2 separate regions of the Homo sapiens genome follow, and region 1 is linked to region 2. Evidence: promoter capture Hi-C in 16 types of primary human blood cells and fetal thymus (Javierre and others, 2016). All regions are on one chromosome and are shown on one strand. The core of a region is centred on a gene start or on the middle of the fragment in contact, and the rest is flanking DNA. Distances in the headings are between cores, read along the strand shown. Region 1 holds the start of LOC105375270 (a long non-coding RNA gene). Region 2 holds the start of ABCA13 (ATP binding cassette subfamily A member 13).

Region 1 (6,471 bases), core at 1,696-4,195, 190 kb after region 2:
ATCCCCTGAAACTCACCAAGGCAAATGAAATATATCCTCATTTTTTAAATTAGCCACAGGGAGTAACTGAAGAGATGTAGAAGACATTTTATATCATGTAAAAACAAGTGTTTTATGACACTTTTTGGCCAAATAGTGAGAAAATAAAGGTAAAACAATACATATATGTTAGAAATGAGCATATTTGTAGAGCTTCATATTTGATTATGTATTCATATGCATTTGGGCTCATATTATCTGTTCTTATAGTTGGCTTCATAGTTCTGGTTTTTAGACAACAAGCCCTCTTGCCCCTGCTCCTCGGCACAGCCAGCAAGGAGTGTAGAGGGGGGAAACAGCGGAATAGAGAGGTCACTTGGCCGCCATATTATCCTCCTCTCCCTCTACTTATCTTTTCATAAGCTCTTTATTCCAGTAGCTTATTTTCTCATTCATTAGACTGATATTTGAAAATAGTTATGTTAGAAAAGAAAAAGTATATAGGCCAGGCGTGGTGGCTTACACCTGTAATCCCATCACTTTTGGAGGCCTAGGCAGGTAAATCATTTGAGCCCTGGAGTTCAAGACCAGCCTGGGCAACATGGCAAAACCCTGTCTCTACAAAAAATTAATAAATTAGCTAGGTGCGGTGGCGTGTGCCTGTAGTTCCAGCTACTCGGGGGTCTGAGCTGGGAGGATGACTTGAGCCCAGGAGGTAGAGGTGGCAATGAGCCATGATCATGCCACTGCATTCCAGCCTGTGTGACAGAGCCAGATCCTATCTCGAAAAAAAAAAAGTATATAATTTAAAATTATATCAGTATTCATTGGGATTCTTTGAGATGAATTTCGTTATAAGGCATTGATTTTCTTTTCTTTATTTTCAGCATGCAGTTTCTGAATATTTATTATGTGTGAAACTTAATATCTTTAGCAACTGGGGACACCCGAAGTATACTTGTTTATATCGATTCAGGGTCCATGGCACACCAGGCAAGCACATCTAGAAGAGTTGGTACAGAAGGCCATGCCACATGTCCAGAATATTCAAGAATGCTTATTCTCTTAGATGATACCGCACCCATAGGAATTGAGAATTGGGAGTGGGAAGAAAACCTCAAAGTGGTTCATACTTGCCTGTAAAAAGTAAATGCATTTTACTAATAAAAAAATATGGAAGTAAATTAAATATCCTTGCCATAGTTTAGTCTTTAAGGATGCTTCATGTTGTTAGAGCATTGAAAACTCATTTTGTATTTAGAAGAAGATAGTCTCATCATCAGTCTTTCCCATAATAGCATCTTTGCCTTCACGGACTCATTTATTTACACCAGGCATGGATGTCCACTATCACTACTATCATTTAGTGCTGATCTGGAGGCACTGGTCAGCGCAATTAGATAGGAAACCAGTAATTTTTAAATTGGAGGTAAAAATTAGTGAGGAGTTCTGACCATGACCATTTGCAGATAATTTGATGAATTCCTTGAAATGCAATAGAGTCTATTTTAAAAGAATTAGAAACAAGGAAAAACTGTTGTAAGTTCGTGGATGCAAAATTCCCATATATAAATCAATATCATTCATAAAAACAACAGGGTATAACTTACAAAATCCATTATTATCTTTAGATAATAAACATCAAATAAAAGAAGAAAGTAAAATATCTATGTGAAAAAAATCCCAAACAGCAGTGAATGACTAAAAGAAGACTTAAGGCCAGGCACAGTGGCTCACAACTGTAATCTTAGCACTTTGGGAGGCCAAGGGTTGGGGGATCACTTGAGCCCAGGAGTTTGAGACCAGTCTGGGCAACACAGCAAGACCCCATCCCTACAAAAAATTTAAAAATTAGCCAGACGTCTTGGCACATGCCTGTAGTTGCAGCTACTCAGGAGACAGGTGGGAGGATCACTTGAGCCCGGGAGGTTGAAGCTTCAAGTGAGCTGTGTTCGAGCCACTACGCTCCAGCCTGGGCGACCCTGTCTGGAGAAAAAAAAAAAAAGAAGACTTCAGTAAAATAAATGGAAAAATAGATGTACCATATACTGTATCCTTCAATGGGAAAACTCAACTGTCAAGATGTCAGTTCTAAGTTAATTTATAAATGTAACTTGATCTCAGTTAAAAAGCAGAAAAATATGGACTTTATGGGACAGTTATGAGATATTAAAGAATTATCGTTAAAAAAAATAATTTGGGCTGGGCACGGTGGCTCACACCTATAATCTCAGCACTTTGGGAGGCCAAGGTAGAAGGACTGCTTGACTCCAGGAGTTCAAGATGAGCCTGGGTGACATAGTGAGACCCTGTCTCTATTAAAAATAAAAAAATTAGCTGGGCATGGCAGTGCACACCTGCAGTTCCAGCTACTTGGAAGGCTGAGGTGGGAGGATCACTTGAGCCCAAGAATTTGAGGCTGCAGTGAGCCATGATCACTGTGCTCCTGCCTGGGCGGCAGAGCAAGACCCTGTCTGAAAAAAATAAATTATAGGTGTCTGTATGATAATGGTACTAAAATGATGATTTTAAAATAAATCTTTTTATTTACATATTTAAATATTTAAAGTTGAAATGATATATGTGGGATCTTTTCCATAATAACATAAGAGGAAGAAATGGATAAGAAAATTCATGAAAAAGATTGGCCATGAAATGATCATTGAAGTTGAATGCTGCCAGTCCATGGAGCTTCATTATATTATTCTGTCTAGATTTATATATGTTCGATATTTTCAATTAAAAAGTTTTTTAAAAATTAAGACATGTATATATTTTTAAAAACCCAAAGGGGGGTATGTTTTAAATAAAATTGATTCTAAAGTTCATATGGAAATATAAACTTAGCAAAAGGACAGCCAGAAAAATCTCTGAAAAAAAATCAACAAAAAGAAATAGCTCTATGACATAGGTATAAAACAATAGTTAAAACTGTATGATACTGGCAAACAGATAGACCAATGGAACAGACTGCCGAGACCAGCTTGGTCGGGGAGACCCTAACCCAGCGGCGCTAGAGGAATTAAAGACACACACACAGAAATATAGAGGTGTGAAGTGGGAAATCACGGGTCTCACAGCCTTCAGAGCTGAGAGCCCCGAACAGAGATTTATCCACATATTTATTAACAGCAAGCCAGTCATTAGCATTGTTTCTATAGATCTTAAGTTAACTAAAAGTATTCCTTATGGGGAACAAAGGGATGGGCTGAATTAAAGGAATAGGTTGGGCTAGTTAATGGCAGCAGGAGCATGTCCTTAAGGCACAGATAGCTCATGCTATTGTTTGTGGCTTAAGAATGCCTTTAAGCAGTTTTCCGCCCTGGGTGGGCCAGGTGTTCCTTGCCCTCATTCCGGTAAGCCCACCACCTTCCAGCGTGGGCGTTATGGCCATCATGAACATGTCACAGTGCTGCAGAGGTTTTGTTTATGGCCAGTTTTGGGGCCACTTTATGGCCAGATTTTGGGGGGCCTGTTCCCAACAACAGACAAGTCCAAAAATATATTTACATGTATGTGGAAGTTGGGTGTATGATAATGGTAGCATCTCAAAAGAGTATGGGGGAAAAAAACAAATGGCTTGGGACAATTATCCAGTCATTAAGAAAATAAAATTCCATCCATATTTCTCACTTTACAATATGACAAACTCCCAGTATGGTAAAATATATACAAGTAGGTAATAAAACCATAAAAATATTAACAAGGAAACTTGGGATAATTCCTGTATGGTATTGAATAGAGGAAGGTCTTCCTAAATATGACTCAAAATTTAGAAGCCACAAAAGAAAAAAAATTCCACTATATAAAAATCAAGAACCTCTGCATGGCCAACAAAACTTAAAATGCAAAAAATATTCACAACTGACATTATAAGGACCAATCTTTCCAATATATACACAGTCCCAAGAAAGCAATTATAATATCAATAACCCAATAGAAAAATGGCCAGTAAACAGATCATCTAGAGACGCACATGAAAGATATTCAAGCTTATTTACTTAAGAAAAATGGCAAAAATTATACTGTACCATGTTTCACTGATGAAATTAGAAAGATCCAAAAGTTTGATAATGTTTTATTCCAAGGCTTTGGGGAAACAGGATCTCTCACACGTTGCTGGAAGAAATGCAAATAGGTATAACATTTATGGAGGGAACTTGGCCTATCTATAAAAATCGAGATGAATATATCCTTTGACTAAAAAACTTACCATGTGCAAAATGCCGTATATAAAATGTTATTCATCAGTAATATTTCCCAGGAGGAAATAAGGGGGTGCAGAAGGGTAGGGATGAACCTCTCCTTCCTTTGCCACTTTAGCTTTAGCTGGTAAATAAACATGCTCTGTAACCTCTTCTGTTACTTCACTATACTCTCCTTCCTTTTCCACTATGAAGCGTTCCTACCTCTCTGCCTGCCTTTGAGTCTCTGCTGAAATGCAAGTGATAATGGCTGACTCTGAATAAATAGGCTTTGCCTGTTCCATTTGGTTGGTCTTCATTTATTTCCACACTATCAATTGTTTTCCTGAAGGTCAAGTGTAAATAGAGCTGGTCCAGTCAGCAGGAGCATGTGGGTCACTGGACACTCAGCAATCCAGTGATGCAGATTCTCATCAAGAGTGTGAGGTAGGGCATGCCATGGCCAACATTGCCAATTCTATCTGTCCCCATCTTTAAAATGGGAATAATAGGCCGAGCATTGTGGCTCACACCTGTAATCCCAGCACTTTGGGAGGCTGAAGCAGGCAGCTCACCTGATGTCATGAGTTTGAGACCAGCCTGGCCAACACAGTGAAACCCCATCTCTACTAAAAATACAAAAAATGGTCTGGGTGTAGTGGCAGGTGCCTGTAATCCCAGCTACTCGGTAGACTGAGGCAAAAGAATCACTTGAACCCAGGACTCAGAGGTTGCAGTGAGTCGAGATTGCACCATTGCACTCCAGCTTGGGCAACAAGAGCAAGACTCCATCTAAAATAAAATAAAATAAAATAAAATGGGAATAATCATACTTATTTTACGTGTGTTTATATTATCTAAGTGATGATATCAGTGCAGAGTGCTATAAAATGAGAGCTATCTATCTCACCCTACTGATCAATAATATTTAAATAGTGCTTTAAAGGCATCCAATAAATGTTGATCACCCTCCTCTTGAGTAGGGGCTGGTCCCCTTCCTTAATCCCCATCACTCACCACCATGCCTGACACTTCTCATGTGCTCCACAAATCTTCATTTAGAAAAGTATCTATGGAATTTATTGAAGAATTTTTTTGACACCTAAAAGAGGAGAAGAGTCTTTGAAGAGCTGCTTAAGCAAAAACCCATCTCTTAGAACAAGTACAGTTGTCAAAAGACATTCACTCATGCCACCTCTAGGGTATGCTTTCCTTCATTTTACAGTTTTCTCATGTTAAAAAAAGAAGACAAATACTGCCTTTCAAATTTGATGCGTAACATGTGAGCTAGTCACGTTGTTTCCCTTGGGTAATTTTTCCAACATTAACTGCTAACAACAGGGCTGCAAATTGCTGTCTCTTCCCCCAGGGACTAGAGAAGATGAGTAAGTACCTGAAAGAGACTGGCCAAATACTTACCTAGACAGAGTTTACCATCTGCAGCTGTAGAGAGGTTATTTCCCTTACTTCCAACTATATGCATCCTGAATGACATTTTATTTGCACCACTGTTTATTTCAGTTTCTAAGACAAGATTAAGGCATTTACCTCCCCACTAAACAAACTTAATGAACAGCGTGAACACTGTTTCCCAAATCATTGTGTGACTGAATTACTAATCCCTGACATTTGGCAGTTCTTAAGTCAGAAGGCAATTTACTGTAGCTAGATGAGAACATGAATATACATTGCATTAGAAAACTCAGTGGTACATGGGGCTTCTAGAAATCTCTAGAGATCACATTCCTTGCCTCAAAATCATTTGGAAAGTAGAGAAGTAGTGTCAATATACTTAATTGTCAATTCTGAAGTTAATGAATTAATTTGCTAAACCTGTTTAAGAAAATTGCAAGAGCACATAAAAGATTCCTTTCTTCTTCCAAGAAAAGATAATTGCAGCTTTATTTTCTATTTCTTGAGTCAAATTCCTATATTATTTGGGCTTTTGTCCATGCAGAATGTATCATATCACATCTTCTTAGGAAGTTTAAAAAATTGCTTTATCAGTTTTTATGACATAAAATTAAGCAATTTACACTAAAGATCAAGATGTTACAAAACATTGTTTACAAAGTTTATTTAGATACATTCTTTAATTATATTCATTTATCTACTAGCAGCCACTTTATTTAATGTGATGCTCAACTCTTCAAAACTCATTCATGAGGAAATTAAAAAACAGGCTTTTTCCTGCAGATCATATGGGGCAAATAAAAAATGTTGGCATGGCCGGGCTCAGTGGCTCACGCTTGTAATCCCAGCACTTTGGGAGGCCGAGGCGGGCGGATCACGAGGTCAGGAGATCGAG
Region 2 (6,134 bases), core at 2,189-4,688:
AGGAAATGGTCAAATAATTATGTGTATACAACTGATGAACTGTTATTCAATAAAACCATTAAATAAGAAGACCATACAGTAACTTTTAAAATGTTAGGCTTCAATATAAAGTGGGAAAAAAGCTATGACTTTAATTACGTAAAAATATTTCATTATGTATGCCTAAGGATAAGAAAAGACCACAAAAGTTAATTAGGATAATAAAATTTTAGATGACTTTAAAATGTTTATCTTTTGTTTTAGTACTGTTTTTACAATAAATAAAAATCAAGAGGAAAAAATAAATGGTATTAAAATAATGGTAAGAAACTACTTTTTCCAAGAATAGTAGAATTTTAACAATCTATAGAGTTAGGTATTAAGATAAGTATGATGGGTACTATTTATCCATTATTCTATTTTTTTAAATTTTTGTTTGAATCTATAATAAGATGTTTTTTGAAGAAACTATAATCATGAAATATATGAAAGATTTTTTAAAAGTAAATGTAAAAGCATATACTGATTTGCTCTTTATGAATGATACAAATTACTAAATTATCACATGTATGCTGACACTATGTACATCTATTATGCATCAATTTAAAAAAAAAGCTAAAAAAAACAGTAAATGTAAAAACAGACAAGCTTCCTTCCTACAACAAATAGTTCCTGGCTTTACTCACTAAATAAACATGTATTTGAGGCCATTTATTCACTCAGGCAGTTTGGTTATTCCACAGTTCATGCCAACACCTCACTTTCATAGTTCAAAAACAAAGAATCTACAGATTATCATTGGAGAATGGGAGAATGCTGTGAAAAATAGGTCAGTTTAAAGACATTCACCCAGAGGGGCCTGCCCTCAATATTTCCACTGTAATAACATTAAGATATGTAAACATATTCACATTTTATCCCCCTGGAGTTCTGTTCTAACCCAACTGTGCAAGCCATGAACTGAGAGTTACCCTGTGCCTCCTCTCCTCACAGCCCACGGTTCATGTCCACAGATGTCTGAGGCCACCCATTTCTACCAAATAAGAAAACAGCTCCCACTCCTATACCAGGTACTGTTGCAAGCACATTACATGTACAAACTCATTTAATACTTACAAACAATTTCATTTTACAGAGAAGAAAACTAAGTTAAGAAATTGCCTGAAAAAGTAAACTAGTAAGTGACAGAGCTGGGATGTGAACCCAGTCAGGCAGCTCCAAATTCTATGCATGGAACCACTTGTGTTGTTTCTACTCTGTTGCTATTCTAGGCATTGCTATAATGAACAACCTTGTACAAATATCACTTCCCATTTGTGCAGGGACATCTATAGGATATATCCCAAGAGGTGGTTTCATTAAATATTTAATTGCATTTTTCATTGCTTTTCTGTGAACAGACTATAGCTCTTTGTGGGCCAGGAACTCACTTTTCTTGTTCACCCACTATCTGGCACATAACAGAGATGCATAAATGCTTTATTCCTTCCTTCTTTTACTTATTCAACAAATATTTACTGAACATCCATTGTGTGCCAGGCACTGTTCTGGGTGCTGGAGAATACATTGATGAACCAATTGGGGAAAATGTCCTGCTCTCATGCATGTAACATACTAATGTAGGATCCAGAGGCAATCGGCAAATAAGAAAATCTGTGGTGTGTTACAAGATGATAAATACTAAAGAAAAATAAGTCAAAGAAAAGTGGGATGCAGGAGTTACCACTTTAAATAAACAGTTATCAAACAAATAAAACCTTCTGATGAGGATGTTTGCCTTAGCAGCAAAAGTAATTGTGAAAATTTTTTAAAACTCAAGTATCCATTAAGGAGGAGTAGGCAGTCTGGCTACCTCGGTCACTGAACTGTTTTGAGGTAGATATGCATAAAGCAGAAAGAGCAGTGCCTGGGAACCAACTTCCACCCATAACACTCTTTCATGGGAAAATAGGCTAATTCCCTAAAACAAACTTACATGTCAATGAAATACACTGTTTATAAATGTAAAACTACCTACACAGACACGAACACACTAACAATCAATGAAGACTGTCTCACTCCTTTATTCCTGAACTTAAAACTTTTTTTTTTTTTTTTTTTTTTTTTTTTTTTTTTTTTTGAGACGGAGTCTCGCTCTGTCGCCCAGGCTGGAGTGCAGTGGCGCGATCTCGGCTCACTGCAAGCTCCGCCTCCCGGGTTCACGCCATTCTCCTGCCTCAGCCTCCCGCGTAGCTGGGACTACAGACGTCCGCCACCACACCCGGCTAATTTTTTTGTGTTTTTTTAGTAGAGACGGGGTTTCACTGTGTTAGCCAGGATGGTCTCGATCTCCTGACCTCGTGATCCGCCCGCCTCGGCCTCCCAAAGTGCTGGGATTACAGGCGTGAGCCACCGCGCCCGGCCAACTTAAAACTTTTGTACAAACTTTCAACTGAAATTATTTTGATCCTAAAGATCACATAAAAAAGAAAACATCTCCTTTAACTTGTATTTTATTTCAAGACAGAGAGATAGAATATTCTGGCTCGGAGGATTCAGCAAAATGTAATTCAATGTCAATTACTGAATCTCTTCAAACCAAAGCATTTGTCAGCAGAAAATTCCCATAGGTTAACTGTAGACCTTAAAATCAGAAACGATGCAGGTAAATTACTGCACATCTACTTCTCCTGAAAATGACATTTATAGGTATTAATGTTTATATAGTGGCATCAGGAATAAAGTTAGTCATAATAACAAGCAATTGATTTCTATTTCACAAAAACGTACACTTACAGGATATTTGCATAAGTATTCACACAAGTTTCATTTGAACAATTCCAATCTCCTTAGGAAAACCTTGCTAATGTAATTTGAATACAGTTCTAAATAGATGTGAATTAACACTAAAGATGGTGACCCTACAGAATAACAGAGTGGATGTGTCATACCCTGCTCTGGTGAGGCACACTGTGCAGTCTTGTGCTTCGGAGTCAGTACCTGTAGCATTCTGCTTATGCATTAAATGCAGCAAATGCTTTGTTCCTTAAACCTGAGAATTCACTGTTCAGTTTTTACAACGAATGCTTAGAACACAAATTATAGTTCAATTCCACCTGCTTTTTTGTTTGTTTGTTTTTAGAATTTTTCTAAATTTGCCCTTTTCTGATAAATTCTTCAGCCTTGATTTCATCCTGGTCATTAAAGTGTTCAGCTACTTTGGCCCTTGGGACGGGTTTTGATTTAAAATAATCCAACCTCCCCAAATTCCCTGCAGCATGAGTGTTTTTACCTGCCAGGAGGCAGAGGCAGGCAGGAAAGAATAGACCCTGATCTTGCTCCAGACCTCACTGGAACCCTATGGAAAACCAAGGCAAGCACTCACCGGGTTCCTGAGTCTGCAGAGCCAATTCTTCCACAGCAGGGCTTTGAACTGGCACCCGGCATGCCCCATGCCTGCTGCTCCCTGCTCTCAGTCAGGAAGCCAGCCTGTAAGGATGGTGCTTATATCTGCTGGGCTCAAGTGAAGGCATGTTGCCTATTAGTCAATTCTAACAAAAGTGAGTGATGCAAGAGAGATTACTGGTGACTGAATAAAACAGGCATCAGATGTCCCCTCTTGTTCGGCATCTGCTGAGAAATCTTTTCACTAGCTGTTCAGTGTTTCAGGAGGGTTGAATTACAGAAAGCTGCCTTCAGGGACTTTCTCGGGCATACACACATACACAGAGAGGGTGCCCTCCCTTTCCGAGAACCCACAGAACTGATCTGTGCGACAAGAAGTAATGCCCACATTTACCATTTACCTCCCTTTTTTTCTGGATATTAATTAGATGGAATTTTCCTTTTTTCTTCTGAAGCATTGGTTATTACACAAATTTGCCAAAATATTTCAATTTTGGTGGTCCCATGGCAGAGAGTTTGAAGGGAAGGAGATGGAAGCAGTGTTGGTGTCTGGGGGAGTTTGGGGAATGGGTGACTCAAGTTCCACTCTGCTACTGCACCTGCACTTCATACTTCTCCTTCACCCATTTCCTCCAAAGGGATCAGGATCTACGTTTCAAATGGTATCGGGTGCAGATGTGGCAGGACTCAGCAAGTGGCCTGTGGATTACCTCTGAGTCCTGTTTGATTCCTGAACACTTGCACTTTCTAAGTGGCATGATGGATTCAGCTTGCCAGCTGGTGGCTCCATCGTCTTGGAAGCCAGGCCCTCTTGAGTTCCTGTTGCCCCCAGTTGTGGTCAGAAGGATTTCAGGCAACCCAGTCTTGTGGTCTTCTATTTCATAAAGCAATTTTCACAAGCTGTGAATGCTTGATAAATGGCTTTTGCAATAGGAAACAGGGAACACAGGCTTCAGCAAAGAAACTGACTCAATTATTTTGTAAACTTATTTGTTTAGAGCATGCCTATTTTATTTTATTTTTTGTTACATGGCTGGCAGCACTAGAGTGAAGGCCATTACTTAGCAGGATGGCGCCCAGCAACCATAAGTGGATTTGCCTGATCCCCATATGATGTTCCCCCTTGACCTGTGACTTCTCAAAGGTCTTTGGGGTTGCCTAAGTATTGCTACTCTGGTTCTCTTTGCAGATAACATCTAGAACACCTTACAAGTAATTGTCATAATTTTTAAAAATCTAGTATAAGAAAAAGCCTCCAACCATAAGGTTTTTCTCATGTTATGTTCATAGCAGCCAGTTTTTATGCTGCTATGCCAGAATTATGTCAGAGACACAAAAATTATCTCATCCATTGCTTTCATGGAACAATGCTGTGTTAGGATTTTCAGATAAACAGAACCAATGGGTGATTCATTGATCGATTGATTGATTGATTATAAGGAATAGGCTCACACAGTCATGGAGGTGGGCAAGTCCTAAGATCTGCAAGGTGAATTAGCAAGTCAGAGACCCAAGGAAGCCAATGATATAGTTCCAGTCCGAGTCCAAAGACCTGAGAACAGGAGAGCCAATGGTGTAGTTGCCATCCAAAGACTGGGAAACTTGAGACCCAGGACAAGCTGGTATTTCCATAAAGTCTGAAGGCAGAAAACAAAAAAAAGCCAATGTCCCAGTATGAAGGCCATCAGACAGAAATAATTATCTAACTTAGGGGAAAGTCAGACTTTTTGTTCTGTTTAGGTCTTCAACTAATTGGATGAGACCCACTCACACTAGGGAGGGCCATCTGCTGAATTCAGTCTACCTACTTAAATATTAATGTCATTTATAAACACCCTTGCAGAAACTCCCAGAATAATGCTATCTTTTGTTCCGTGTTTCAGCCAAGAAAACAAACAAGCAATTAGAGCCCTTCCTAACTCCATGAGCTGCCATATTAAATGCAGAATAACTGCTTAGTGACCCCATATTAGCAAATTTGGCCTGATACAATTTTATGTTCCTTCCATCATTATCCCATACCCTTATATCCATTTCCACACATATTCCCCAGATTTCTGCTTGTATACATTAGAAAACTCAAATTGTCCATTTGATGTATAGCACACTTCCTCATGGTTTATACCTTATATCTCCCCTTTGGGTGCTGCTGGGACTTGAATCTAGTTATAGGTCTGAAATGAACGAGGAATGGTGGGAGTGGGTTCTGAGGAGAAGCAGAAGCGCCTTGCATGGCAACTGCCTCATGGTAGGACATTATAGTTTTCTTAGGCAAGGCAGGGTTGATCCCCTCAGACATGGGGTAAGAGACTACTTCCACTAGGACTGGGGAAAATGCCTCCACTTGAGTGTGGAGATCTCTTCCACATAACAAAGAAGACGTTATTTAGGGGCTCAGTGTCTCCAGCTTCATCAGGGTCTTCCCACATATCTCCATTCCAACTTTCAGCACCGCATTCCCTCCAAATCAATGCCTTTACTTTAATAGTAGACACCCTACAAGACTAGCAGTCAAATTGCATTGTAATTCAGTCAGTTGCAAGATGAGATTCTGGTTTGATTTTCTGCAATCTCAGCCCTGCAACTACAGGAAATAAGGGTCTCTTTCGGGGACACACTTAGAAACTTTCAGGTCATTTATGCAGCACTTCAGCTGGGAATTTGACCCCTGAGGTCATCCTTTTCTTTTTCCACTTTGTCCACCAACACTAGAAGCAACCAGTCAACCTCATTTTACTCATGAGTTTGACAAAAATGTTGGAAAGTATCAA

What was found. The method cuts DNA at HindIII sites, captures the fragments that hold promoters and counts their contacts. A CHiCAGO score of 5 or more calls a contact.
Region 1: a fragment that was not itself captured here is called in contact with the fragment with the promoter of ABCA13 in region 2 in 1 of 17 cell types (neutrophils); the score reaches 5.1 in neutrophils.

What each region holds. Positions count from the first base shown.
Region 1 is chr7:47,981,845-47,988,315 of GRCh38, reverse strand. It overlaps LOC105375270 (a long non-coding RNA gene), which reads right to left and starts at 5,874. Exons shown (of 3, transcript XR_927251.3): 1 at 5,181-5,874; 2 at 4,011-4,098; 3 at 871-1,965. SUN3 (Sad1 and UNC84 domain containing 3) reads left to right here. Exons shown (of 10, transcript NM_001030019.2): 10 at 867-1,168. The coding sequence ends at 986. The HindIII fragment of the contact is 2,057 bases long and covers 1,917-3,973 here.
Region 2 is chr7:48,168,762-48,174,895 of GRCh38, reverse strand. It overlaps ABCA13 (ATP binding cassette subfamily A member 13), which reads right to left and starts at 3,438. Exons shown (of 62, transcript NM_152701.5): 1 at 3,344-3,438. The coding sequence starts at 3,412. The HindIII fragment of the contact is 8,502 bases long and covers 630-6,134 here.